7 separate regions of the Homo sapiens genome follow, and regions 1, 3, 4, 5, 6 and 7 are each linked to region 2. Evidence: promoter capture Hi-C in 16 types of primary human blood cells and fetal thymus (Javierre and others, 2016). All regions are on one chromosome and are shown on one strand. Each heading gives the region's core, a stretch centred on a gene start or on the middle of the fragment in contact. The rest is flanking DNA. Distances are from core to core; before and after follow the strand shown. Region 1 overlaps KLHL32 (kelch like family member 32). Region 2 holds the start of POU3F2 (POU class 3 homeobox 2). Region 3 holds the start of KLHL32 (kelch like family member 32). Region 4 overlaps MMS22L (MMS22 like, DNA repair protein). Region 5 overlaps MMS22L (MMS22 like, DNA repair protein). Region 6 overlaps KLHL32 (kelch like family member 32). Region 7 holds the start of NDUFAF4 (NADH:ubiquinone oxidoreductase complex assembly factor 4).

The links. The method cuts DNA at HindIII sites, captures the fragments that hold promoters and counts their contacts. A CHiCAGO score of 5 or more calls a contact.
Region 1: a contact is called between a fragment that was not itself captured here and the fragment with the promoter of POU3F2 in region 2, in 1 of 17 cell types (endothelial precursors). The highest score is 5.8, in endothelial precursors.
Region 3: the fragment with the promoter of KLHL32 here is called in contact with the fragment with the promoter of POU3F2 in region 2 in 1 of 17 cell types (total B cells); the score reaches 7.7 in total B cells.
Region 4: a fragment that was not itself captured here is called in contact with the fragment with the promoter of POU3F2 in region 2 in 1 of 17 cell types (naive B cells); the score reaches 5.6 in naive B cells.
Region 5: a fragment that was not itself captured here is called in contact with the fragment with the promoter of POU3F2 in region 2 in 1 of 17 cell types (total CD4 T cells); the score reaches 5.1 in total CD4 T cells.
Region 6: a contact is called between a fragment that was not itself captured here and the fragment with the promoter of POU3F2 in region 2, in 1 of 17 cell types (M2 macrophages). The highest score is 5.3, in M2 macrophages.
Region 7: a contact is called between the fragment with the promoter of NDUFAF4 here and the fragment with the promoter of POU3F2 in region 2, in 2 of 17 cell types (activated CD4 T cells and naive CD8 T cells). The highest score is 7.9, in activated CD4 T cells.

The regions. Positions count from the first base shown.
Region 1 is chr6:97,057,360-97,060,667 of GRCh38, reverse strand. The region is part of intron 4 of KLHL32 (kelch like family member 32); the gene reads right to left. Among named protein-coding and RNA genes, the nearest start is that of KLHL32, 130 kb to the right of the region's middle. The HindIII fragment of the contact is 921 bases long and covers 1,503-2,423 here.
Region 2 is chr6:98,832,763-98,836,108 of GRCh38, reverse strand. POU3F2 (POU class 3 homeobox 2) reads right to left here and starts at 1,535. Exons shown (of 1, transcript NM_005604.4): 1 at 1-1,535. The coding sequence starts at 1,235. RefSeq lists enhancers at 1-221, 222-818, 817-886 and a silencer at 1,525-1,594. The HindIII fragment of the contact is 14,703 bases long and covers 1-3,346 here.
Region 3 is chr6:96,923,358-96,926,889 of GRCh38, reverse strand. KLHL32 (kelch like family member 32) reads right to left here and starts at 2,162. Exons shown (of 11, transcript NM_052904.4): 1 at 1,864-2,162. RefSeq lists a silencer at 2,126-2,435. The HindIII fragment of the contact is 7,655 bases long and covers 82-3,532 here.
Region 4 is chr6:97,166,077-97,169,599 of GRCh38, reverse strand. MMS22L (MMS22 like, DNA repair protein) reads left to right here. Exons shown (of 25, transcript NM_001350599.2): 20 at 1,360-1,529. Among named protein-coding and RNA genes, the nearest start is that of MMS22L, 120 kb to the left of the region's middle. The HindIII fragment of the contact is 2,534 bases long and covers 343-2,876 here.
Region 5 is chr6:97,144,678-97,148,149 of GRCh38, reverse strand. It overlaps MMS22L (MMS22 like, DNA repair protein), which reads left to right. Exons shown (of 25, transcript NM_001350599.2): 25 at 1,263-3,472. The coding sequence ends at 1,344. Among named protein-coding and RNA genes, the nearest start is that of MMS22L, 140 kb to the left of the region's middle. The HindIII fragment of the contact is 2,556 bases long and covers 366-2,921 here.
Region 6 is chr6:97,088,863-97,092,331 of GRCh38, reverse strand. The region is part of intron 6 of KLHL32 (kelch like family member 32); the gene reads right to left. Among named protein-coding and RNA genes, the nearest start is that of KLHL32, 170 kb to the right of the region's middle. The HindIII fragment of the contact is 5,387 bases long and covers 1-3,469 here.
Region 7 is chr6:96,896,272-96,899,644 of GRCh38, reverse strand. It overlaps NDUFAF4 (NADH:ubiquinone oxidoreductase complex assembly factor 4), which reads left to right and starts at 1,754. Exons shown (of 3, transcript NM_014165.4): 1 at 1,754-1,979; 2 at 2,798-2,901. The coding sequence starts at 1,844. It also overlaps a transcript of KLHL32 not described here. RefSeq lists an enhancer at 1,832-1,931. The HindIII fragment of the contact is 8,617 bases long and covers 1-3,373 here.

The DNA.
Region 1 (3,308 bases), core at 714-3,213, 1.8 Mb after region 2:
TAGCAGACAGGAGAATTTGCATGATCTCCAATGAAGACCCTCTAAACTGCAATAAGACTGGGACTCCTGGTCTCCAGGCAGAATATGGGGCCAGAATCCGGTGAAAGAGGAGGAGAATGGGACCTGAGGTGAGATTCTGTATAGAGCATGATGACGTGGGCCACCTCAGTCAGTGCCCACACCTCACATGGGGGCTCTGGGAGGGTGGAGCTGGGACTGAGCGGTGGGAGTAGGGACACCCCACAGTCCCCAGGGCATCCCTGCCCCTCCTTCTTCAGCTCATCCTCCTGGATCATCAGATGTCCACTCTCTCAATTCTGTCTTCTTTTTCTCTTTATTTTCCCTCTCCCTTATACCTAGCCTCTTGGATTGGTGGCTGGTAGGGACTGTCTTTAACAGCCATGGTAAGTCTCAGTGTGACCTTTTTTTTTCTCCTGCCTGTGATCAAGTGAGTTGGCATCTTCAGAAAATTTTGTATCTTCAGATCTTCAAAGCTATCTTCTTCATTTCTTGCATAAGGAGATTTTTTAATTACCTGCTTCTTGGTCTATGTGTACAGTGGACTGAAGGATTTGAGCATGTTAAAATCAGACAACTAAGGTCTTTAGTAAACACACATACCATGTGTGCACATGAACAACACGCTTTTGCAAGCAAAACAAGCGCTTGTACAACTGCAAATTAGAGTGGTCTAATACCATTTATGAGAATAAATGATTACATTTCCTCCCTTCTTTATAGTTTGTTTCTTTGGTATTTTTTTTTTCCTGTATAGTATTACAGAATGGCAAATTATCAGAATCTTGAATTTATAATCATCAAATGAACTGGATACAACAGCATAAATAGCTGTTAAATGATCATATATTCAACACACATAAAATGTTTTGCATAAAGTTATTTATGACAGAATTCTCACAGATGGAACATGAAACACAAGATCTATCTAGCTATGAGAAATTTCTACCAATCTAGTTTTAGTTTCAAAACCACTGCACTAAGGACTTTTTATCCACAAGGTGGCAGCCATTTAAAGGAAAAGAATTTTCTAAATTGACTCATGCACTGCACATCTATATCTGACATCTGAAGTTTATTTTTAAGAAAGAAAAACATAGTTCAGGTAAGGATAATAAAACACATGAATTCCAGTTTCTAAATGTTGTGATCATATTGGGAAATGTTCATAAATATGCCTGTTGAAGTGCTCCATCTGAGCAATACTGGCTAGAATTCAGTAGTTCTCTATGAATCAGAGAATTCAAACTTTTGAGGCTTGTATTTGGAAAACCTCACCATGTAGCCCCAACCTGCTGTTAAAAACTTTTCTCCAGTTTTATGACCTTCTGGTCCCTTTGCTAAAGCCAGTAATCTACTAGTCTCCACACTCAGGCAATACCTTGTTCTCCATCTTCAATGTCCTCCTCATTCCTTTAATTTCCATATGTCAAAATCCTACTCATTTCAAGATCCAACTCTAAATCCACTCCTTATACAAAGCTTGGCAAGATCTCTCCCCACCCCTACCTCATCCTGGGTCTCCACAGACATCTGGTGAACTAATAAGCCCATGTGTTCTAGGTCACGCTGTCTGCTTTCAAATCCTGGCTCCTACACTTGCTGACAGAATCAACTTGGGAGAACAGCTCAACTCCAGGTGCCTCAGTGTTCTTATTTGTACAGTGAAAATAATGATGTCTACCTCAAAAACTGTTTTAAGGACCAAAAGAATGCTTGTGTATCATTACAATTGTGTGTGTCTATATGTAACAAAGCAGCTTAAACAAATATAAGGGTTACTTTTCCAATAACATTTGGATTAGGCCACTTAGAGTGGCAACCAGCCTCCTTGTATTTTCCTGCTTGGCAAATCTCAGGCTGTGGTTTCATGGTCTCAAATTGGCTGCCATACCACCAGGCATTATGTCTACATTCAAAGCAGAAAGAAAGGAGAGGTCAAAGAACAAAAAACATTTGCCAGCTGAGTCTGGCATTGTTTATCAGAAAAACAATAGATTTCTTACAAACACTGTTACAGAGACTTCCATTTACATCTCATTGGCTGGGTGGCTACACATAGCTGTAAAAGAGCCTGGGAAATTAAATTTTTATGGCTAGATGCACCATAGTCCCAAATCAAATTAGAGTTCTATATAAAGAAAAAAGAGGAAATGAATATTGGTAGGCAATCAGGGCATTAGCCATGGGACTTAGCACATATATATATGAGGAAAACTACAAAACTCTGATGAGAGAAATCAAAGAAAAACTAAATAAATGGAAAGATGGCCCATGTCTGTGGATAAAAAGGACTCCATATTGTCAAGATGTCAGTTCTTCCCAACTCAATTTATAGATTCAATGTAATCTTATTCAAAATCCCACAGTTATTTTTTGTGTATTAACAAACAGATTCTAAAGCTTATATGAAGAAGCAAAAGACCCAAAATAGCCAACACGATGTTGAAGGAGAACAAAGTTGGAGGACTGACAATACCCGCTTCAAGACTAAAAAAAACTACAGTTATCAAGACAGTGTGACATTGGCAAAAGAAGAGAGAAACAGATCAATGGAACAGAACAGAGAGCTCAGAAACAGACTCACATAAATATGGTCAATGAAAGAGCATAGATAATATTATAGATAATATAATAATAATGGATAAAAGATAGTCTTTTCAAGAATGGGGCTAGATTAATTGGACACTCACATACAAAAATTGAACCTGGACACAGCTCTCAAATCCTTCACAAAAATAAACTCAAAACGGATTACAGATGTAGATGTAAAATGCAAAACTAGAAAACTCTTACAAGGTAACATAGGAGAAGATCTAGATAACTTTGGGTATGACAATGACTCTTTAGATACAGCACCAAAAACATGGTCCATGAAAGACATAATTGACAACTTGGACTTTTTTAAAATTAAAAACTTCTGCTCCACAAAATACACTATTAGGAAATTGAGAAGACAAGCCATAGGCTAAGAGAAAATATTTGCAACAGATACATCTGCTAAAGGAATGTTATCCAAAATATCAAAAAACAAGATCTTAACACTCAACAATGAAAAAAATGAACCATCTGATTTTTTGAAATGGGGGCGGGAGGGGGGTGTAAAAGATCTGAGCGGATACCTCACCAAAGAAGACAGGTGGCAAATAAGCATATAAAAAGATACTCGGCCGGGCGCGGTGGCTCACGCCTGTAATCCCAGCACTTTGGGAGGCCGAGACGGGCGGATCACGAGGTCAGGAGATCGAGACCATCCTGGCTAACACAGTGAAACCCCGTCTCTACTAAAA
Region 2 (3,346 bases), core at 286-2,785:
ATCCTTTTCTCTTTCTGTCTCCTGTTACAAAACCAAACTCTCACCACCTCCTTCTCCAGCTGTAAGCTGTCCGCGAGGGAGGTGATCTCCTGGGCCGAGGGCTTGGGGCATTTGAGGAAATGGCTCTCCAGAGCCCCCTTGACGCTCACCTCGATGGAGGTCCGCTTTTTCCGCTTGCGCCCTTGCGCTGCGATCTTGTCTATGCTCGTGGGGCTGCCCGAGGACGAGTCCGCCTCCTCCAACCACTTGTTCAACAAAGGCTTCAGCTTGCACATGTTCTTGAAGCTCAGCTGCAGGGCCTCAAACCTGCAGATGGTGGTCTGCGAGAACACGTTGCCATACAGGGTGCCCAGAGCCAGCCCCACGTCCGCTTGGGTAAATCCCAGTTTGATCCGCCGCTGCTTGAACTGCTTGGCGAACTGCTCCAGGTCGTCCGAGGTCGGCGTGTCCTCGTCCGAGTGCGGGTCGTGGTGCGCGCCTGGGTGGCCAGGCGGACCCTGCGGGGGCGGCGGGGGCGGCGGCTGCTGGTGTGGGTGCGAGTGCGGGTGCGGGTGGTGGTCGGCATGGTGTGGCTCGTCGTGCGCGTCCCGCAGGCCGTGGTGGTGCAGACCGGCCGGCTGCCCGCCGGCGCCCAGCATGCCGTTCACCGTGAAGCTGGGCTGCGAGTAGAGCAAGCCGCCGTTGGACGCTCCCATGGAGGGTGGGAGGTGCGCTGCAGCCGCCGCGCTCCGCCATGCCCCGGGTCCCGGGTGGTGGTTAGCGGCGTGGTGCACCAGATGCGGCGGCCGCTGTTGCTGCTGCTGCTGCTGCTGTTGCTGCTGTTGCTGCTGCTGTTGCTGTTGCTGCTGCTGATGCTGCTGCTGCAGGGCGCCTGGCCCGTGCAGCTCGTCTCCGCGGCCGCCCTGCTGCACCACCACCGAGGGCTTGATGTCCGGCTGGCCCAGGGGGCTGGTGGACCACGGGGAGCCGTCGCCGCCGCCCCCGCCGCCGCCCCCGCCCCCCCCGCCGCCGCCACCGCCCCCGCCGCCGCCGCCGTGGGACAGCGCGGTGATCCACTGGTGAGCGTGGCTGAGCGGGTGTCCGTTGCTCTGCAGAGCGCCGTAGTCGCCCTGCACCAGGCTCTGCGCTTCGCGGTAGCCCCCCGCGCCCTGCTGCATGCCGCCGGGCGGCTCGGCGTGCACGATGGAGGCGCTGGAGGTGAGCAGGCTGTAGTGGTTAGACGCTGCGGTCGCCATGACTCTCGGAGCCGGACTGAGCGCTCCGGTTAAAGGAGCCGCGCATTTGACAGTTACTTTTTCGCCTCGGGCTCCCTCTCCTCGCTCGCTCTTTCTGTCTCCTCTCTCTCCCACAGCGGGCAGCTCCGACGCCCGCTCCGACGCCTTCTGTTGCTGCTCCTGCTATTACTGCTGCTGCTGCCGCCGCCGCCGCCTCCCGCCCGCCCTCGCTCTCTTTCTCCTCCTCTCCCTCCTTCTCGCTCTCGCTCACTCTCTGACTAGCTCGGCGCTCCCCCCTCTCCCTGCTCTCTCCAGCTCTCTCCCGCTCTCTTGGCAGCGCCGGCTCGCAGCGGCACGCGCCTGGGCCCCGCCCCCTCCGCCCCCTCCCATTGGCTCCGCGCCCTTTGATTTACGTGGATACCGCTAGCAACCTCCCAGGCCGGCGCCACTGATTGGCGCAGAGCTACTCCCTCCCCCTCCCCCGGGCTCGGAGTCCTCCTAGCCCTCCTCCCCGTCCCCTTCGCCTCCCGATTCAGATTCTCTCAGTTCTCACCCCCCCGCTTCTTCCTCACCCGGGGCCTCCTCCGCCCTCTCTCGGATGGGCCCCGCCCCCCATCTGTCTCCCAGGCAGAGAAGACCGGCAGGGGGGCGGTCCCGGTGCTCTTATCGGCCACAGACACTTGGAAGACTTGGATTGGGGTGGGGGGCGGGAGGCAGTGGTGTCCACTTTCGTTTCCCAATAGGGCTTTAAGATGGGGAAACGGAGGGGGTAAGGGAAAAGCTGGGTCGCACCGAGCCAGCGGGAGTCGGATTTTTATTCACCTAGGGACACACACACAGTGTGTATCTCTTAAACCTAGAGCCAAGAGCCAGACCTGTTCCCCTGTTCAACTCTCCTTGCATCCCACGGTTAGAATTTCAGTGCACAAGTGTCTCTTGCTCCAGGGTGTGCGGACACTTCGGCCCAAAGCTCTTCTCCTTCCCCTCTACCCCGCGGCTAGCACAGGCTCTCTTCCTTTTAGGTTCCAGGCCCAATTGTCTCCCACTCCCTTGGGGAAAGAACCCCGAGAGAGGCAGGCTCAGCCCGCACCGCGGCTTGTAAGTCATTCCCATCAAGGCTCGGAGTTGCTTGCTCTGACAGCGTAGCGGTCTGAACTGAAAACCAAACAAAACTCTAAAAGTCTCTCCGTCAGATTCACACGCCGGCGCGTGCAGTTTTTGGTTTAGAAAACTAGAAGCCTGCGTGGGCTCCGTCTTGTGCGAGGCTGCCGGAGTGCTGGCGAGGGGTGTGCGGCCTTGTAGGGGCGGCGCAGTCGCCAAAGGCCGCTCCGGGAAGCCGCGCGGAGGGCCTGCGTGCGCGATTCCCCGTGCTCCTACCGCTGGTAGGTGCAACTTTTCCGTTAGCCCCTTGGGAAGGAGGAAGAGTGTGTGAAGCAAATGGGCTGATGCCAGGGGAACCTTCCTAATCAGTAACTTCGGTGGGCGCTAGCGGGTGGGGTTAGTCTATGTCTTTGGCGCTCCCTGGCCAAGCTCCCAGCTCAGCTTTCAGCAGTGAACTCCAGAGCAAGACTATGGGACCATGCACCCGCAGCGCCGCTCTACGGAGCGCGGGCGCGTCGCGCCATCAGTTCTTTAGCCGCCCAGAGCAGGTGCCGCCTGCGAGTTTCCGAGCCTGCAAGCCCGGTAGCTAGAACTTGGGCGCGGACCCAGGCTGGAGCGGCGTGACCGCCACGCAGGGCCGGGTGTGTACATGGGCGCTGTAAAGCGAATCAACAGTTACTGCCGGGAAGGGAATGACAGACCCCAGGGAACCTGGATCGCGTCCCCACCTCTCACCCCTCGCTCTATCGCTGGTTTTGCCGGCGGTCGTAGGCTTGAGAGGGCAGCCAAATCAACGCTCAGAGGGAGCATTTTGGGGCCTCTGAGCATCTGAATCCAGACAGCAGACTGGAGCGGGCCAGAAAATTCATCATGACTAACAAGGAGTCATGCTCTTTGGAGAGTGGCTGAGCTGTTTATAAATCACCACGTTGAGCACCCGCCCGGGCAAGACGCTTTGGCTGAGAATTTCCACGTGTCCTGTGTTTATGAGCGTGTGTGGGGGAGAGAAATGGATAGGGGAGGGGCGAGCC
Region 3 (3,532 bases), core at 913-3,412, 1.9 Mb after region 2:
GATATGACCCAGATACAATTTTTAATGTGGTCCTTACAGTTTTTAAAATTAAGGATACCTCATAAAAAAAATCCAGAAGCTTCTGTTTTCCTTAAAAAACTGTCATGTTTTAGAGCCTGGACAGTAACAATCGGCTACAGTGGAGTGGGAGCTGCCTCCTTTACAGTGGTTTGCAAGTTCCAGAGGCCACAGTTCACACTCCACTCCCTACCCTCTCTCCCACGTGTCTTGTCTAGGCCTGCTCCACTCCTTTATCTCACTTGTCAGATCCCTGCACACATCTGAAACGCACACACAACTTTTTTTTAAAGGCAAGGAGACTGGATCCAGAAAGGGCTTCCCCATTCACTAGCTGTGACCTTCAGCAAGGTTTGAGTCTTGGGTTCCTCAGCTTTAAATGGAAGGTAATTTATTGGCCTCAAAGGGTTGTTGTGAGGATTAAAAAAGAAGTATATGAAAAGTGCTTTCTACACTGTAATGTAAAATGTTTGTCATCATTCATCTCCCAAAGCTCTGTGAATTGCATAAATCCCCTCTATCTACCTCTGTCATTATTTGGCTTACTTGCTCCTCACATTATTTATTACACTCTCTATGACAGAGTTTAAAATCTAAATTAGAAGAATTTGACTTATTTCCTTGGGTCATTTAACAAGAAGTAGAAAAGATGAACAAATATCCAAGGAAAACAAAATTAATTCTTGAATGCCAGTGGATCTTTACTGGGCCATTTGTTTGTGATGGAGGCATGAAATTCGTGCAAAGTGTAATTACTGGATTGCTGATGCCTTCAAGTACTGTGTTACAAGTTCACCCAATAGACACCCGAGACCTCAAAATAAAACAAAACTGACAGCCCAGGTATTAGGCTGACCTGTTCCATTGGCCTATCAGTGTTCCAGTAGAGGACCCAGTCCCATCAGAAAAAAAACAAAAAGCAAAAACCACTGCACTTTCATATAAGCTCTAGTAAGCCATGGCACACATTTTATATCTATCTCTATCTGTGTATAGAGATAGATCTAAAAATAATCAATAAGAGATTTTTTAAAAAACAGAATCTTCTCAGAAATGAGCAGAGGTGCAAAAAACTGCGCTTCAATACTGATGCAGGGGATATAAAAATGCTAGCAAAGATGTATGTCATGAATGCTACCTTCTTACGTTACGAATTCACAAACGTATTCCTGTTCTGGTCAATTTACAATAGAAGCTCATTCTTGTGTGGGGAAACACAATTAAATCATCTGCTTTTAATTTAAAATAATCACGACTAAGTGAACTGCAAAATAAAACTGGAAATAGAGGGGAAGAAGGGATCTAAACTGCAGTCATCTTTCTTTATAAGATCACCAAAATGGGAGTAAATTATGATTCAAGACACAATCCGTTGAAAAATTCATCTGACGAATCCTTTTTAAAGCATACCATATAGTGCAATTACGGCTTTTCTTGAAGTTGAATGAAACCGCCACCTGAATACAGATTAACAAATGCCAAATTACGAAAGGTCCTCAGTGTATATTTTATTTTAAATATCAAAATAAATAACGGCATCATTTAAGAAACCAGTTCTTTCAATAGATGTCCCACGGCTGATGTTTAAGCAAGTCTCCTTGGCAACCAAGGAGCACAGTACATATTGGGCTCAGGGGGAGGGAAGAAAGGGGGAGCGACTCCAGGGCTGGCAGCATAAGTAACCTGAGTAGTGGCTGCTCCCGTTAGACGACACGGGCAGAGGCTGCATGGGCTGCAAGCCCCTGAAATGTCAACTCCGGGTCTGCCCCCACTTGGCGCACCAGCAGCCTCCCACCCTCTTCCTCAGGTCTGCAGAACAGGTTACAAGGAGAGAGACTGGCTTACCCGATGGGGTGAGCGGTCTGCTGGGTTAGGTGCCAGAGACGGCAGCGCAGGCACCGGCCTCTCCTTGATGCACAATGGCTCTGCTTCGCCCCACGATGCTGAGGTTAACAGAACCCGCAGTAGCTTCGCTCTGCTGGTTCGGGGATGCAGTAGCGAAGACGAGCGTCCTAGCGTGTTTGTGTGTGCGAAAGTGTGTGTGTGTGTGTGTGTGTGTGTGTGTGTGTGCCTGCGTGCGTGTGTGCGCGCGACTGCCTGCGCGCTCCCGAACTGTCGCGCGGGGAAACTGCTCCCTAGTAAATAAAAAGCCCTAGCCAGCACTGCAGGTGGCACGTCCCGCTGACTCCGCCCCAGGCGGTCGCGTCAGACTGGAGACGCACCTTGGCACCCCCGGGGCGGGTTCAGACGCCACAGGGCTCCGCCCCCTCCCGCCTCCAGCTAGCCCGCGCGCTCCCTCCCCCTCCCCCGCGATCCCGCGCACATCCTTTCGCCACCCCGCGCGCAACGCCACCGCCCGCCGCCAGCGCGCTCGCTCCCCTGCCGCCCCCCGCCCCCGCCCCCGCCGTCGGCGAGCTGCCAGCGCGCGCCCGCCGGTCCCGGAAGTACCCTCCTCCACGCCGCCCTCCTCCTCGCTCTCCGGCACCTGCGTCGCCGGCCCCTGGGTCACATGCGCAGTCTGTAGCCACCACTGCGGCGACTGAGACCCGGGAACCCAGCCTGCTCGCCCCCAGACTCCTTTCCCAGGGCTGGCGGGCAATCTGAGCAAACAGACCCCGTGGCCCTAACTCGGTGTTCCAGGGAGTCCTTGCTCTGCTAACTTGTGAAGTTCAAGTTGCCTCTAGTCCTAGCGGCCCTACAGTGGCCCTCCTTAGGATAATACACTCTATGGTACTGACCAGAACAAATTCACAGTAACTTTAAGAAACGTCAGGGGAACCAACCCGCCAGAGGTGGACGAAATCCCCAAGCCTGAGAAATGAGAAAGGGTGTGATTACTGTGGTTACTACTAATTCAGCAATAAAACCGCAAACAGACAACAACCACAGAACCATACCATTAAATTCCAGGGCCTGGCACACTCAAGTGCCACTTCCGAGTCATTCAGGTCACTCCTGTGTAAAACATGCTGAGAAACTCACACTAAAGCAAAGTGGGTAATTTTAATAGGTAAGTATTCCACCACCGAATTGAAAACCTTAGTCCAACGTGGAGGTAAGACACCAGAAGCAGGAAGAGTGTAACTAAATTGGAGTAAACTGTATTTTGTAGAAGTTCAGGATTTAACTTACTGCAAAGATAGTATGTTAATCCTATTTCTTGCAGGTTTATGTTCTGCCACAGAGTTGGGCTAGGAACAGTGCCCTGATCTATTTTGAGGTGTCCTTAATGTTCTCATTGGTCTCAAATCAGTGGTTCAGCGATTATTTTCTACTTCTAGATCCACAGGATTTGGGGGTTTATTCGTTTGCTCCCTCTGGAGGTTATCTGTCTGGCTTGTAGTGCTTCATTTTCATGGTTTTGATATCTGGACGCTAGGATGCTGGGTACCTACTTATCTAGCAGTCCTGGACACAGCATAGGACAAGGGAAAGAATGACAAACAACTGACTACAAACATTAGGTGCAGTGTCATCCTAAGAATTTTTCATAAGCAACTTGATAGTTTTCATT
Region 4 (3,523 bases), core at 360-2,859, 1.7 Mb after region 2:
ATGTTGCTGTTTGTTCTTAAAAGTGATAATTTGTTGAGTTTTTTTCTTTAACATCAGTATACTTTTCCATAAGCATATTTTGGTTTTCCTTCAGAGCTTAAATTTTAAACTCTTTATTTGATGGAAATGACTTTGAATTTTATCGTTTTTGCTTTCTAGGATGGAATAAAATATAAAAGTTTATGCAGTAGATGTACCACTGTGCTTTTTGGATAAGCATTTAATCTGTTTTTAAATTCATTTTTCAGTAAGGAGACCTCAATAGTAATAATATATCCTAATGGGAATTATATATCTGCTCTTAATTACTTTATTAAACAAAGGGTGCTCATTTGTTAAGCTTTATTATCATCAGATGTGGCAATTAACAGACTTCTAGCACCAAGGAAGCCATAATATATTTCAAGTAGCAAAGAAATCTGTTTCTCTTCATTCAGAATTAAAATTTTGTTTGTTTATATTAAATAATGGAAAGGTGTAAAAACTGAAGTTCATGGAGGTTAACTGAAGTTGGTGGAGGTTAAGTGATTAGCTTATAGCTAATCCTGCTTTCCATGTATTAACAATTAAATTTAATTATACTTCTGTTGCAAACTGGATTGAGGCCACTTACATGTAAGATTAAAATATGAAGAAATAGGGGTACCAACAAATAAATATAGAGTTTCATGGTGAGGCCCAGGGAAAATTAGTATGCATATAAAACCATAATGTATAATCCTACAGTATTCTTTAAAAGGTGGATTGTTAATTTGCATTTGGGCATCCTAGCAACTCAGAGGGAAAGCAGAAAGGGAAATCCTGAATAATTTCAACATTCAGCCAATGTAGTCACATAATGTATAAATATATTCCACTGTATGTGTGAGTGTAAACAGGTTGACTAGCCCTTGTCTAAAATTCTTGGGACTAGAAGTATTTTGGAGTTCAGATTTTTTTGGATTTTGGAATACTTGTAGTATACTTAACCAGTTGAGCACCCCTAATCCAACAGTGTGAAATTTGAAATGGTCTAATGAGCATTTCTTTTGATCATCATGTTGGCACTCACAAACTTTTGGATTTTGGAGCGTTTCAGATTTTATATTTTCAGATTAGGGATACTTAACCAGTGTATATATTAAATGCCAGTTGCTCGGAAAATGTATGTTTTCCTTGGCCCAAAACTCTATGAAAAATTTGTCTCTTTAGTGAAATATATGAATTGACATAAATATTTGTTACTTCTACTATATGTCTCTTCCTATTCCCTACTTTAATTTGGTCCCATGTGCTTTCAATACAAATTTTTAAATTAAGTGACAAAATGTTCTGGTCAGAGGATAACAACAACATGCTGTTACTTCTCTTCTTTGTTAGGAATTCTTGTGAAATCATGGGCACAAATCTTTGCCACTTCTAAAGCCCAAAAATTACTATTCCGGATCATAGATTGTTTACTGCTGCCACATGCAGTATTACAGCAAGAGAAGGAACTGCCTGCACCTATGTTGTCAGCAATTCAGAAAAGTCTTCCTTTGTATCTCCAGGTATAGTATCTGTGGTTGCTTAAAAGTTTAAAAAAAAAATATTGAAACTTTGCCTTAAAAACATAGTTTACTAAATGCAGATTTAAAAACTGTACATTATAATCTCAAATGCTTGTGTGGCACATTTATTGAACATATTTTAAATTGCTTTTATGTTTGGCTTTGGAAACAAAAATGAAAAAGCAGAGGAGCTTAAAGTTGAGAGAGGAGGTAGATGAGCACAGACACTTATGGTAGTGTGCTCAGTATTTTTTTTTTCAGACCTCATCTATTAGACTATGGGTGAGGAGATATAAGAGAATACACTGTAGAGGACATCAGAGGTAAAAGAGCAAAATGGGTAGGAGTTGGAGGGCTTTTCATTTCAGAGGGAGCAACATGTACAAGGGCATGAGCTTTAAGAAAATATAGAATGGTTCTGTTGTGGCTGGAGAGTCATATGGGAGGAGCCATGTAATGGAGGGCTTTATATTCCATCCTAAGAAGTTTGGACTTAATCTTTTACATGGGGACCTGATGAATTTGGAGCAGAGAAGTAGAAGTGACATAATGATATTTACATTTTAGAAAGATGATTCTGGTGGTCATATGTAAGATAATTGGTGTGGAGGTTTTGGAAAGCAGTGGTAACTAGTTCCTTGTAATAATCCACATATTGTCAGAAGGTTTTGACCTAAGGCAGTGGGAATAAAACCCATAACAGCAGATTTCAAAAACATTTGGGAGCTGTGATTAAGAGTACTTGCTAATTGAGTGTTGTGGAGGAACTCAAAGAAGTGAAATGCTTCCTAGATTCCAGAGTGGCTATCTGCGTAGATAGTAGTTCTACTTACTAACGTGGGAAATCCTGGAGATGTCGGGATGAAGGTAAGGATTGGTTTCTGAGCAGCTTTAGTTTGAGGTAGGCAGTTGGAAATATTGATCTGCCATTCAGGAAAGGATGAGACTGGAGGTGTACTTTATTATTCATTAGTGTCTGATGTTAAAGATAAGTGCTTCTTAATTTGAGGTCCAACAAGGGAAGCTGAGGAGGAAAGGGAAAATGGATTTTGATTATGTAACAATCTTTTTTCAAAGATGTATTTCTTAACAGAGTTTTAAGATTCCTGAGAAGTTTTAAATTTTCCCTCTAATTTTTATTCATAATAGCATTTAAAATGAAGTTTAGTGTGTTAATCTAGCAGAATGACAAAAAGGGGAGGCAGCCACACCACAGCCTGAACCGCCAATCCCACAGAGGGAGAGATGAATAGAGGGGAGTGGTGAGCAGCAGGAGAGTCTGGAATATTTCTTCCATGTGGTCCTCTTAAACCCAAACAGTCCATTTAATAAGAATTCTCTTAAGCTTCGTAAGTGGTAAATTTAAAAGTTTGGTGTATTATCTGTTTGGTAGAACTGGAGCTATGTCTTTAATTTCTTCATGGTACCCAGCTCTCCTCTTCGGAATTTTCAGAAAATATTCATTTATTACTTCATCTTCTTCTGATTTAATGTGCTTTTCCTTAAACTACTCAAGAAACAGAGTTGGTGGTGGCGGGTGGGTTGGGGGAGGGGTTCATTGTTTGATTTTTTTCAGTTGTTTATTTGGTACAGTTTTAACAGCTGTATGCTATTTTTCATTACAAATAAACTTTCAGAATTTCTTATTGGGTAAGTACCCGTTTACAACTAAAATGGAGACTTCAAACATTTTAAATTATTTCTCTTGGAAAATACGTTGTGAGTCACCAAGTACCAAATTAAGAGTTAACTTTTATAATATAATGTATTGCTGTGTTGGTGATTATCTATATTTAGTAGCATTTAATATTTACTAATACTAGCAGAAAACATTATTTTCTCTCAGAGTATTGGTTTAAGTATTAAATACTGTAATATATATGAAAGTATTTTGTTAACTGCTATACAAATGTAAGAGATTAAATAAACAGACATGCAACCAGATATCAAGAGTTCTGTGTGACTGTATTAAACTCTTCACTTTTCTAAACCTT
Region 5 (3,472 bases), core at 394-2,893, 1.7 Mb after region 2:
TACACTAAGACATTACAATGGCTACAACATCACCAGGCATTAGGAATTTTTCAGTACCATTATAATCTTAATGGGATCCATCATTGACCAAAATGCAGCCCATCATTGACCAAAATGTTTTTAATGTAGTGCATGACTATAATCATATGCATGTGTGTCTGTTTATCTGTACAAATACACACTCTAATGAATATGCATATTCCAATTTTTAGACAAAAATTTTTTATTAAACAATATATGAGATCTTTCTTGAAGACATGACTATGTTGATTATAGCTTTAGCTAACTAATGGAATCCATTTTTTCAATGCCATTTCATATAAAAGGCAGGGGGTGCGGACTGGAGAGATCATCCTTGTAAAGCTTTTGTATGCCAGAATGGAACATCTCCTTTCTTCTGCATGGTGACTTGGCTAGCCTCCTGTGGTTTTCTAAGGAGAGAAGATTGAATCACTTCAAATTGTAGCTTGAAGAAATGGTGTTTATTGTCATGTCACAAAACAAGCTCATGCACAGACATGTCTCACATCTGGCTTCTCTGAGCAGTCTTCAAATTTGAGTGAAAAAACTAGAGAGGCTGTGTGTGAACCACCCTAATGCAGTATGTTGTTAAAACAAATATTCTGGCCTACTACCTTGTGTGGTTATGCAGGCCCATAAGAAGTTTGGTTCTAAAGATTCTGAACAGAACAGGTATTTAGACTAGTGAGATAACTACTAGGCACAATAAATCATCTAAAACACCTTCCAAATACAGGGAAGTACTAGAGAATGTAGGAGGAGAAACAATATTTTATTTTCAAACTTTGTTACTTATAAGAAGTTAAAAGAAGAAAATGGGATATATACTGAAATTGCTACACAGGTCTATTTTATGGTTACAGAATTTTTGTTTTAATACTTACGCTTGTGATACAAGTCTTCCCATTGTAATCATACCATCATTGTCCTTAAATAATATTCCATGAATGCATTTTATTACCCGTGAGCATTATAATATTTCGGAAGGTTAATGAACTTTTACATGTCATTTTTAGCACACATTTTATATATAAAAATCATACTTTAATACATCTTAACATCTAGGTTTACTCACAATAGATATAAAGCATTACTTTTTAAGAAGTGTTGTGCTAAGCCTGCTGGATGGATGGCTGAATAGATGGATGGATGGATGATGGGCAGACTTAATTTGTAAATACTGAAATGAAAAATAATGAAAATGTTAATATATTTGCTTTCTTTTCTTTTTTCTTAAACAGGGAAGCCTATAGCAAACTTTTGTCTCACCTTGGACAGATGGGACAAGATGAGATGCAGAGACTGGAAAATGATAATACTTAATATATTTTGTGATTCATCCTGTCTATTAATTATCAGTATCTAAAGCCACATTGTTCCACTCTAATTCCTACTTTTAATTAATTGTATAATGTTCTGTTTAAAATAATTTCTAGGATTTTTTTTCCTTTTATATCTGTAAGTAAAAAATGTATAAATAAGGAACTGAAGGTTAATTAGCAACTGTGTAATAGGATCCTTGGAACTTTTTACAAAACTGCATTCTACCTTGATGAAATTTTAGTTAAACTAAATTAAAGAAACATTTTCTGAGAGTGTTTTCTGTGTGTGAGTATTAAGCAGATACTTCATCCATAGACTTTTTGTTGTAGTATGACTTCCTGCCTCCCTGCCTTGTGACTGATTTGTCATGTTTATTTTTTATTTTTACAATAATAGTTATGTTTTAAAATGATACTTTTTCAAAGTACCTGGCTACCCTATACTGTGTTTTTGGTGGGGGAAAGGTGTTGGGAAATGTGACTGTGTATTTGTTTTTCTTTTTTATATGTGTGAGGCAAGTTAACAAAGAAAACCCTTACAAAGCACACTTAACTGTGTTAGGAATGAGACTGAATCTGGCTAAAGGATTATACAGCTGATATCCAAAAAGAAGTGTAAACATGCCAACAGGGTTTATATTTAGGTTCCAAGAGTTGCCAAATTTTTTTTTTATTCATCCTTTCTTTTGGAGTTGTCATTAAAAAAAAAATCATATCAGGAGGAGGAAATAAAGGAGACTTTAAGAGGAGAGTAAATAAAAATATTCTAGAAAAGTAACAATAGTAGTGGTCTGAGAAGTCAGCTGATCCATCTTCTTGCTCTTTAGCCAGAGCTTCTTATAACTTAGCATTTTATCCAAGAAACCTGTTTAGTTTCCTTTAACAACATTGTTTCTCAACTTTTGAACTCTTAACTCATCCAGATTGTTTTACCAGTTGGAGCTTGTCCTTGACTCCTTTTCCTATTGAGCATTATTTGGTTGAAAGAGCTCCAGTCCTAGTTTTGGGAACCCACCTGGGTCTCAAACTCAGCTTTGCTTTATGATCTTGAGCTAGTTACGTAACCTTTCTCAGTCTAGTTTCTTCATGGAGAAGAAAAGAAGAATCCCTTTACTATTTGACAGTGTTGTTGTGAGAATCAATGGGATAATGTACGTGAAAATATTTGGTGGCCCAAATTCTGTTGGGAAATGTACAGACACGATTAGTTTATTACTCGTGCACAATTAAGGCAAAGAACACCTCTCAATTTTATCTTTCTCTAATGATATGTCCCAGATGAATGATCCCACTTTCCAATGTTTTCTTACATCATGTTTTCTAACTTTGAAGTACTTTGTTTCCTTCTTGGGATTATAGTCTTTATCATGGTTCTACTCTTCCTTCAAGAAAACATTTCAACCCTTCTCTGGCTCAAGGAGTATCTTTAAAAATGAAATACTTTGCAATCAGTATTCTGTAGTTAATAGCGTTCTCTTAATTATAATCTGTGAAATCCAAAGGAGTGTCTGTTATTTTCATAACATATAAATGGTCCTTCTCTCAAATCAGCTTCATCAAAGGGAATAAATGAAAGCTTAAGGCTGTTTAATAGACTTCATAACACTGAATTTCTTTTCATCATGATAGTGACTTACTAAACAAATAATGTATGGCTTGGAAAGTTCCAGCAGTCACTAAGGAGTTTTATCTATTTAAGGTGATGCCTTTAAAGAGGTTATTTATGTGTATATGTGTTTTTGTGTGTGTGTGTGTGTGTGTGTGTGTGTGTGTGTGTGTGTGGGTTTTTTTTTTCCAAAGGAGATTGATAAAGATACCTTTGAGAATCTTGCTCCTTAGAGTATGAAAACGTTTAAAGGATAGGAAAAGCTGCTACTGAATCATGCTTTAGGACATATATCTATAGATACTAAGAATAACTAAAATTTGTACTTAAGAATGGTAACAACAAAGTGTGTAACAATATGTGTGTGTATTATATGTTTTGTATTTATGTATAAGTAACTTTTTTTAAAGCTTTTTTTTAAATTGAAAAAAGAAGAAAATTTATGGCTCAGTTCCTTTTTTTTAAAATCTTCACTGATCCTTCACTTATTACTACAATCTTGCCCTCTTTCATTCCCAGACTT
Region 6 (3,469 bases), core at 374-2,873, 1.7 Mb after region 2:
GGGAAAATAATAGTAACAACACATGCATGTATGAAAGAGAATTGGCCGGGCACGGTGGCTCACGCCTGTAATCCCAGCACTTTGGGAGGCCGAGGCAGGTGGATCACGAGGTCAGGAGATCGAGACCATCCTGGCTAACGTGGTGAAACCCTGTCTCTACTAAAAATACAAAAAAATTAGCCAGGTGTGTGGCACATGCCTGTAATCCCAGCTACTTGGGAGGCGGAGGCTGGAGAATCACTTGAACTCGGGAGGCGGAGGTTGCGGTGAGCTGAGATCGTGCCATTGCACTCCAGCCTGAGCAACAAGAGTGAAACTCCATCTCAACAACAACAAAAAAAAAAAAAAAAGAAAGAAAGAGAATTGAAGAAGGGCAGGAACATGATGAAAAATTATAATTTTGTTTGAGGATAAGAGTTCTTAGTATTTTATTCTATTTCTAGTTACCAAGGTCCAAATATTAAAACATGAACACAGCTTGTAGAATTTTTTGATTAAATGTTTACCCACAGCCTGATTTGTTTGAGGCTTGGACTGTATCACATGGATTGACAAAGGTTTGCGAAGCTGTTTAGAGGGTGCATACAACTATCGAGAGTTAACAATAAGCAAAGCATTGAACAAAAGGCGAAGGGTCACTGGTTGGTATTGAAACATCCAGTCAAAAGCATGTCATCTCCATTGTACCCATATCATTTCAACGTGCCCCAACTTGGCAAAGAAATCATTATGCTATTTGGCACAGGTCAGTCCCCACTGGGAAGGCATTGGGCAGGTGGGAAAGAGCAGCAAGCGGAAAGCCCCACATCAGACACTGTCAGGCCCATGACAGCAGGACCCTGTTGGTGCTTCCCATTACTGACTACCCAGCACCCATCATATGGCAGGCAATAGTAGTACCCCACAGGACATGGCTGGGTAGAGCAGGCACTCAATAACTATTTGGAATGAATGAAAGAATGAATGAGGCATATGTCATCTAACAGAATTAGAATTAGCAACATGACACAGACACGGAGGCAGGCACAGAGGCCATGATTTGTTCAATCCATGGGCACTACCCAAGGGAACTAGAATGGTCATGCTCTTTTTTCTGTTTCGTTTTGTTTTGTTTTTTTTCTTCCAGACAGGGTCTCGCTCTATTGCCCAGGCTGGAGAGCAGTGGTGCAATCACGGCACACTGCAGCCTCAACTTCTTGGGCTCAGGTGAACCTGCCCTTTGGGTAGCTGGAACTACAGGTGCATGCCACAATGCCTAGCTAATATTTTCGTAGAGACAGGGGTCTCACTATGTTGCACAGGCTGGTCTCAAACTTCTGGGCTCAAGCGATCAGCCTGCCTCAACCTCCCAATGTGCTAGGATTACAGGCGTAAGCCACTGTGCCCAGCTAATCAAGCCCTTCTTAATTCCTGTTAAAGTCATAGGATTAATTGGATGCACCTCTGTGCCCATCGCCTGAGTATTTCTGAGCTTCTATTACAAATTTAGAAGCTATAGACCAAAGTAGACATAGCTCAAGAATTAGAAGACATGAGTTTGATTCCTAGATATGTAACCTCAGTTTTCCCTTTTGTACTACAGGAGAACAAAGCAATAATAAATGAAGATGCATTTTCAAAACTGTGATGTGATATTCAAATTGGAAGTATTTTAATAGTATTGTTTGACATCTAGTACTATTTAAATTCCTTGCTTCTTCCTGGCCAGAGGTACATTTGGGTCAATTTATCATCGAAGGATAAAAGATGAAAGCTGAGTACATCACCAGTGTCTTCTACTTTCCAACTGTAAAGGGATAGTAGCTTTTTGTTTGGGTTCACTTCTGGGACTCCTTTTGAAGAAAATGATTAATTCAAACTGTAACGTGGCTGATTCTGTGGTATACATAAAAGCCCAGGAGGAGCGTGTCAAAAAAACCACTGCATTTGAGATTGTTGACTAAACAATATGTGGCTTATGTCTCTCAAGATATAAAATGAATGTGTTATTAAGAGTATGACTTAGGGAAGCAAATTTCCAACAAAAATATAAGGAAAAATGCAGTCTTTAAAAGGCCAAACTCATTTTCTATATCAATTTTCTTAGAATAAATCCAGCCTAATGTAGGAATAGTAGGATGTCTTATTATCCATTCAATACATTTTAATATGGAAACTCTACATTGTTGTTTTTATTTATTATTAATAGAGTGCAAGCAGTAGGTAATGCAAACACTACAGCACAGCCTCTGCCTCTAGGGATGGATAATCACGGACAAATATGAACAGGATTGCCCCAGCCCCAAATCAGGTGACATGGTCCCTCTTTGCCACACTAAAATAGGACATAACTTGGGTTTATGCAATTACTTTTGCACCAACCTAATAGAATAAAGGAAACCCTCCCTGCTGAGGTCTTACCTTGTTTGACGCCACTCACATAGCCAGCAAATTTTTTGGTCTTAATATCTACTTAAGTCCAGGCAAAGTCAGACTCAGAATACAAGTAGGAAGTGTCCTCAACCCCCAGGTTAATGAAGTAAGAAAAGTACTGTTCTTTTTTTTTTTTTTTTTAGCTGGAGTTTCATTCTATCATCCCAGCTGGAGTGTAGTGGCGCAATCTCCACTCGCTGCAACCTCTGCCTCTCGCTTCAACTGATTCTCCTATCTCAGCCTCCAGGCCTCAGCTGGGATTACAGGTGCCTGCCACCACACCTGGCTAATTTTTGTATTTTTAGTGGAGATGGGGTTTCACTATGTTGGGCAGGCTGGTTTCAAATTCCTGACCTCAAGTGATCTGCCCGCCTCAGCCTCCCAAACTGTTGGGATTACAGGCGTAAGCCACCGCGCCTACCCAGAAAAGGACTGTTCTTACAAAATAATAAGTTCTCACTAAAAGTAAGAAACAGTTAATACATTAATAATTAAAGGAAAACAAAACTTCCCACTCAGAGATAAAGGTGAAATAAATTTCCTTAACCTAACTACTGAATATTTTTGTAAAGCATTTTACCCCAGAATCTAGCTCCCAACACTATGCCTAGCATGTAACAGGTGGTCAAGAAATATTCATTTTTATTTCCACAAGCTGTTTTCTTTCATTTTTAAATATCCTTCTTGTTTCTGCTACTTTGGAGATAAAATAAAAATTCAGAGAGCTGTACTTATGGTTTAAAATCAGGAGGATTCTCTCCATTTGGGAGGAGGCCTGGAAGAGGGAAATGGAGTTGGCAGATCTGTCCTCTGCCTTCTTTCCACTCTAGCATAATTTTGGGTATTTAGTAGGTGCTCAGTACATACTGATGGGTGGAGAGCCATACTTTCTCCCTATGCTAGTGTGTATAAGAATTGATGTTATATTTTTCTATATAGGCTTTTTCTACAAATTGTACTTCCATGGAAAACAGTAATCTCCCTCTTACTCTGGTGAAAGAGAACCTAAAGGCAGAAGAGGCAGGAAATGCATGTTCCTGAAAAGAAAACAGAGCTT
Region 7 (3,373 bases), core at 505-3,004, 1.9 Mb after region 2:
GCAATTTGAGGGCCTGAGCAGCACTGGGCCAGGATCAGGCAAAGCAGCTGACACATGCTGGAAGCTCTTTCAATGTTGAATCCAAGCTCTATTGGAATGTGTGAATTCAAATAATTATTTCATATTGTAATCCCTACTGTCCTGACAGTCACTTCTAACATTACTTTTTCATACTGCCCGAAGTTCGGTGGAATTTCTATGAAAATGAGATTTTCACTTTTAAAATATTTTAACAGGCAGTGAGTCGAATTGCTACCATGATTAAAGCACATAGACATAATGAGGCAGATTAAAATTTCTTAGCACCCATAGAAATAGAAATACCGTGCCTAAAAAGCCCTGAATCACAAGCATGCTTAAAAGTATCAAAGATAGAAATCTTGGAGCAGCCTGCCACCTTCAGGATAACTTCCCAGTTAATGCTATCTGAGATCACTGATTTCAGCTTCTATAAATTCCAAATACCAATCCCTGTAAAAATGTTCAGTATAATTAAATAAAGGGCATTTAAATTAGAGTGGCTGAAGCCGTCTTCCTTGCAGTGCTTTTGCTCTGATTAAGCATTATACTTAATGATTACATTAGTTTTCTTTTTAAAAAACTTTCCCTTTCTTCATTTTGGTTCTTTGATTCTTGTTTTATTATTATTATTCTATTCGATTATCTTTACATCAATATTTTCTTACTTTAAGCTGGTTAAAAACATCCACTCTACTTCATTTTGCTAAGCAGAGATCAGAACACTAAAAATAGATTTTGCAGCCACAGTAAGAGAAATACTGTAACTTCCTTCCTACTGCTTCCTTCCTGGTGGGTTTTATTTTAGATTAATAACAATATTTCTAAAGGGTCTTAAATAAAAGCAGCACTACAGTAACCCATTCAGGAAATGGAGAGAGACGGAGAAGGTGAATGTAACACTCGTTTTTTTGTTTGTTTGTTTTTTTTTTCTGACGTCTTATTGTCTGTTCCTTTCATTAAATTACACAGAGGCTTAAAAAGAATGAAGAAGGCAAGAGAGAAGAGAAATAGGAGAGGGAATGACTCAGCATTTAGTAGCATGGAGAAGTAAATTAGTAGCAAAAATAAGATAAGGGAAAGTATAACTAAAATCGATACCATTAGGTCAAATGAGAACGGGATGTAAAAAATAATGGAAAAAGAATACAGTGGCTTGAAAATGCATCAGGCGGGGGGACAGGAAAATAAGAGGCATTTAAATGAGAGCGGCTGAGAACAAATACTCATCGAAAGGGAACATCCTTTCATTATTTTCCTTTCACAAAAGCAGGAAAGGGCAACTTGAGAGCCCAGTTTGACCCTGGTTCAGTAAGTTCCATTTTTATCGGCTAACTCTTTGGTGGCATTGCCCTGTGAAACAACTTCAAGGTCAACTTCCTTACGACTTTGATTTTCAGCTCTTCACTGAAACTTTGGAATCACGTGGAGTCTTATCCAATGCTGGGCCTCACTCCACAAGAATTAAATCAGAAAGTCTGGGGTAGGGCCCGGCACAGAACTTTACAGAGCTTCCCGGGTGACTCCCTCGGAGTTCCAGCGTTAAAAGCAACCGTGGGTCTGGGGACTTAAGCCCCGCCACCTCCCGCCGGAAGCGGCCCTCGTGGGAGCCGTCACTCGCCCCGAAGGGAGGGGCTCCCTTTTAAATGCCCTGGGCAGAGAAGCGGTGTGTGGCCTCCCGAGCGCTAGGGGGCGACGGGCACGCATTTAAGCGCCCGCGGCGGGGCTTCCCCTCACTTGTGCGCATGCTCCGGGTGTCCCGGAGTTGTCCTGCGCCGGTGTTCCCACGTGCGGCCTGAACCTGAGCGCATAATGTTATGAGGAGATGGGAGCACTAGTGATTCGCGGTATCAGGAATTTCAACCTAGAGAACCGAGCGGAACGGGAAATCAGCAAGATGAAGCCCTCTGTCGCTCCCAGACACCCCTCTACCAACAGCCTCCTGCGAGAGCAGATTAGTCGTGAGTGGTGCGAGGGCGTTTCGGGGCCCGGGGGCGCGGAGTCCCTGTGCTGCCCGGCTGTCCCTAGCGTGGGTCCGGAGGCCGAGGGATCGGCGTCAGCCTGCTCGGCCGCAGCCGCTCGGGTTGGCGGAGCGTTGGAAGGGGGAGCCGCCAGGCCGGTGACATTGAGACTGTCCTCCGCGCCCGCGGTGAGGTCGGCGGCCCCGCCTACTTCCGAGACCCAGAGGCAGCAGCCAGTGCTCCCGCTAACCAGGCCCTCGCCGGCTGCTGTCACGGACTTGATACAGGGAATCAAAATCCGAGAGGGTCACAGAGCTTTCTCTAGGGGTCTTCACTGGACGATGGACGCAGAGCCTGACCTGGAATTTTGATTTCCATCTAAAGTATTTTCCTAACAGTCCAAATGATTATGTTTATTTTTTAAAAAAATTAAAGTGGTTAGGCCGGGCGCGGTAGCTCAAGCCTGTAATCTCAGCACTTTGGGAGGCCGAGGCGGGCAGATCACCTGAGGTCAGGAGTTCGAGACCAGCCTGGCCAACATGGCTAAACCCCGTCTCTACAAACAATGCAAAAATTAGCCGGGCGTGGTGGCGCGCCTGTAGCCTCAGCTTGTCGGGAGGCTGAGGTGGGAGAATCTCTCGAACCCGGGAGGCGGAGGTTGCAGGGAGCCGAGATCGCGCGACTGCACTCCAGTCTGGGCAACAGAGCGAGACTCCGACTCAAAAAAGAAAATAAAAGAAAGCGTTTGTGTTAAGCGTTTAGGATATTACAGGAAATTTTCCTTGATTTTAATATTGTGACTTTTTTCCTTTCCTTAGTCTATCCAGAAGTTAAAGGAGAGATTGCTCGTAAAGATGAAAAGCTGCTGTCGTTTCTAAAAGATGTGTATGTTGATTCCAAAGATCCTGTGTCTTCCTTGCAGGTAAATGTGTGTTTAATTAAGTGAATACACAATTTACTTATTTTGGGGCTTCAGGAAAATGATTAAGTGTGGCAAGTAGTAAAAAGAGTGCTCTGCAAGTGTGTGTTGTGATCAATCTACACGCCTTGGCAAAGTTTAAGCACACTGGTGTAAGACAGCAAGACACTTATGCCTTGGTTCACTGGATATTTACCAGAATTCTAAAATAACTTGTGGAAGTATTGATACAAGCAACTGTGTGAATTATTTCATAGTATTTCAGAATTTGTAGGATTTGGTAAGGCATTACTTCCAGTGGTTGTCATTTGAGTGACAAAAGCAGAGCTTTAATATTATTTTCTCATTCTTCTGTGGATTGAGGTATGTTCTAATCTCAGAGACTCCTTTAGTAAGTGGTGTTGTTGGATTTTGTGGGGTGTTCCTGTTTGTTTTTTTAAGGATGTATTCAGATAGGATATTTAAAATTAGAAGG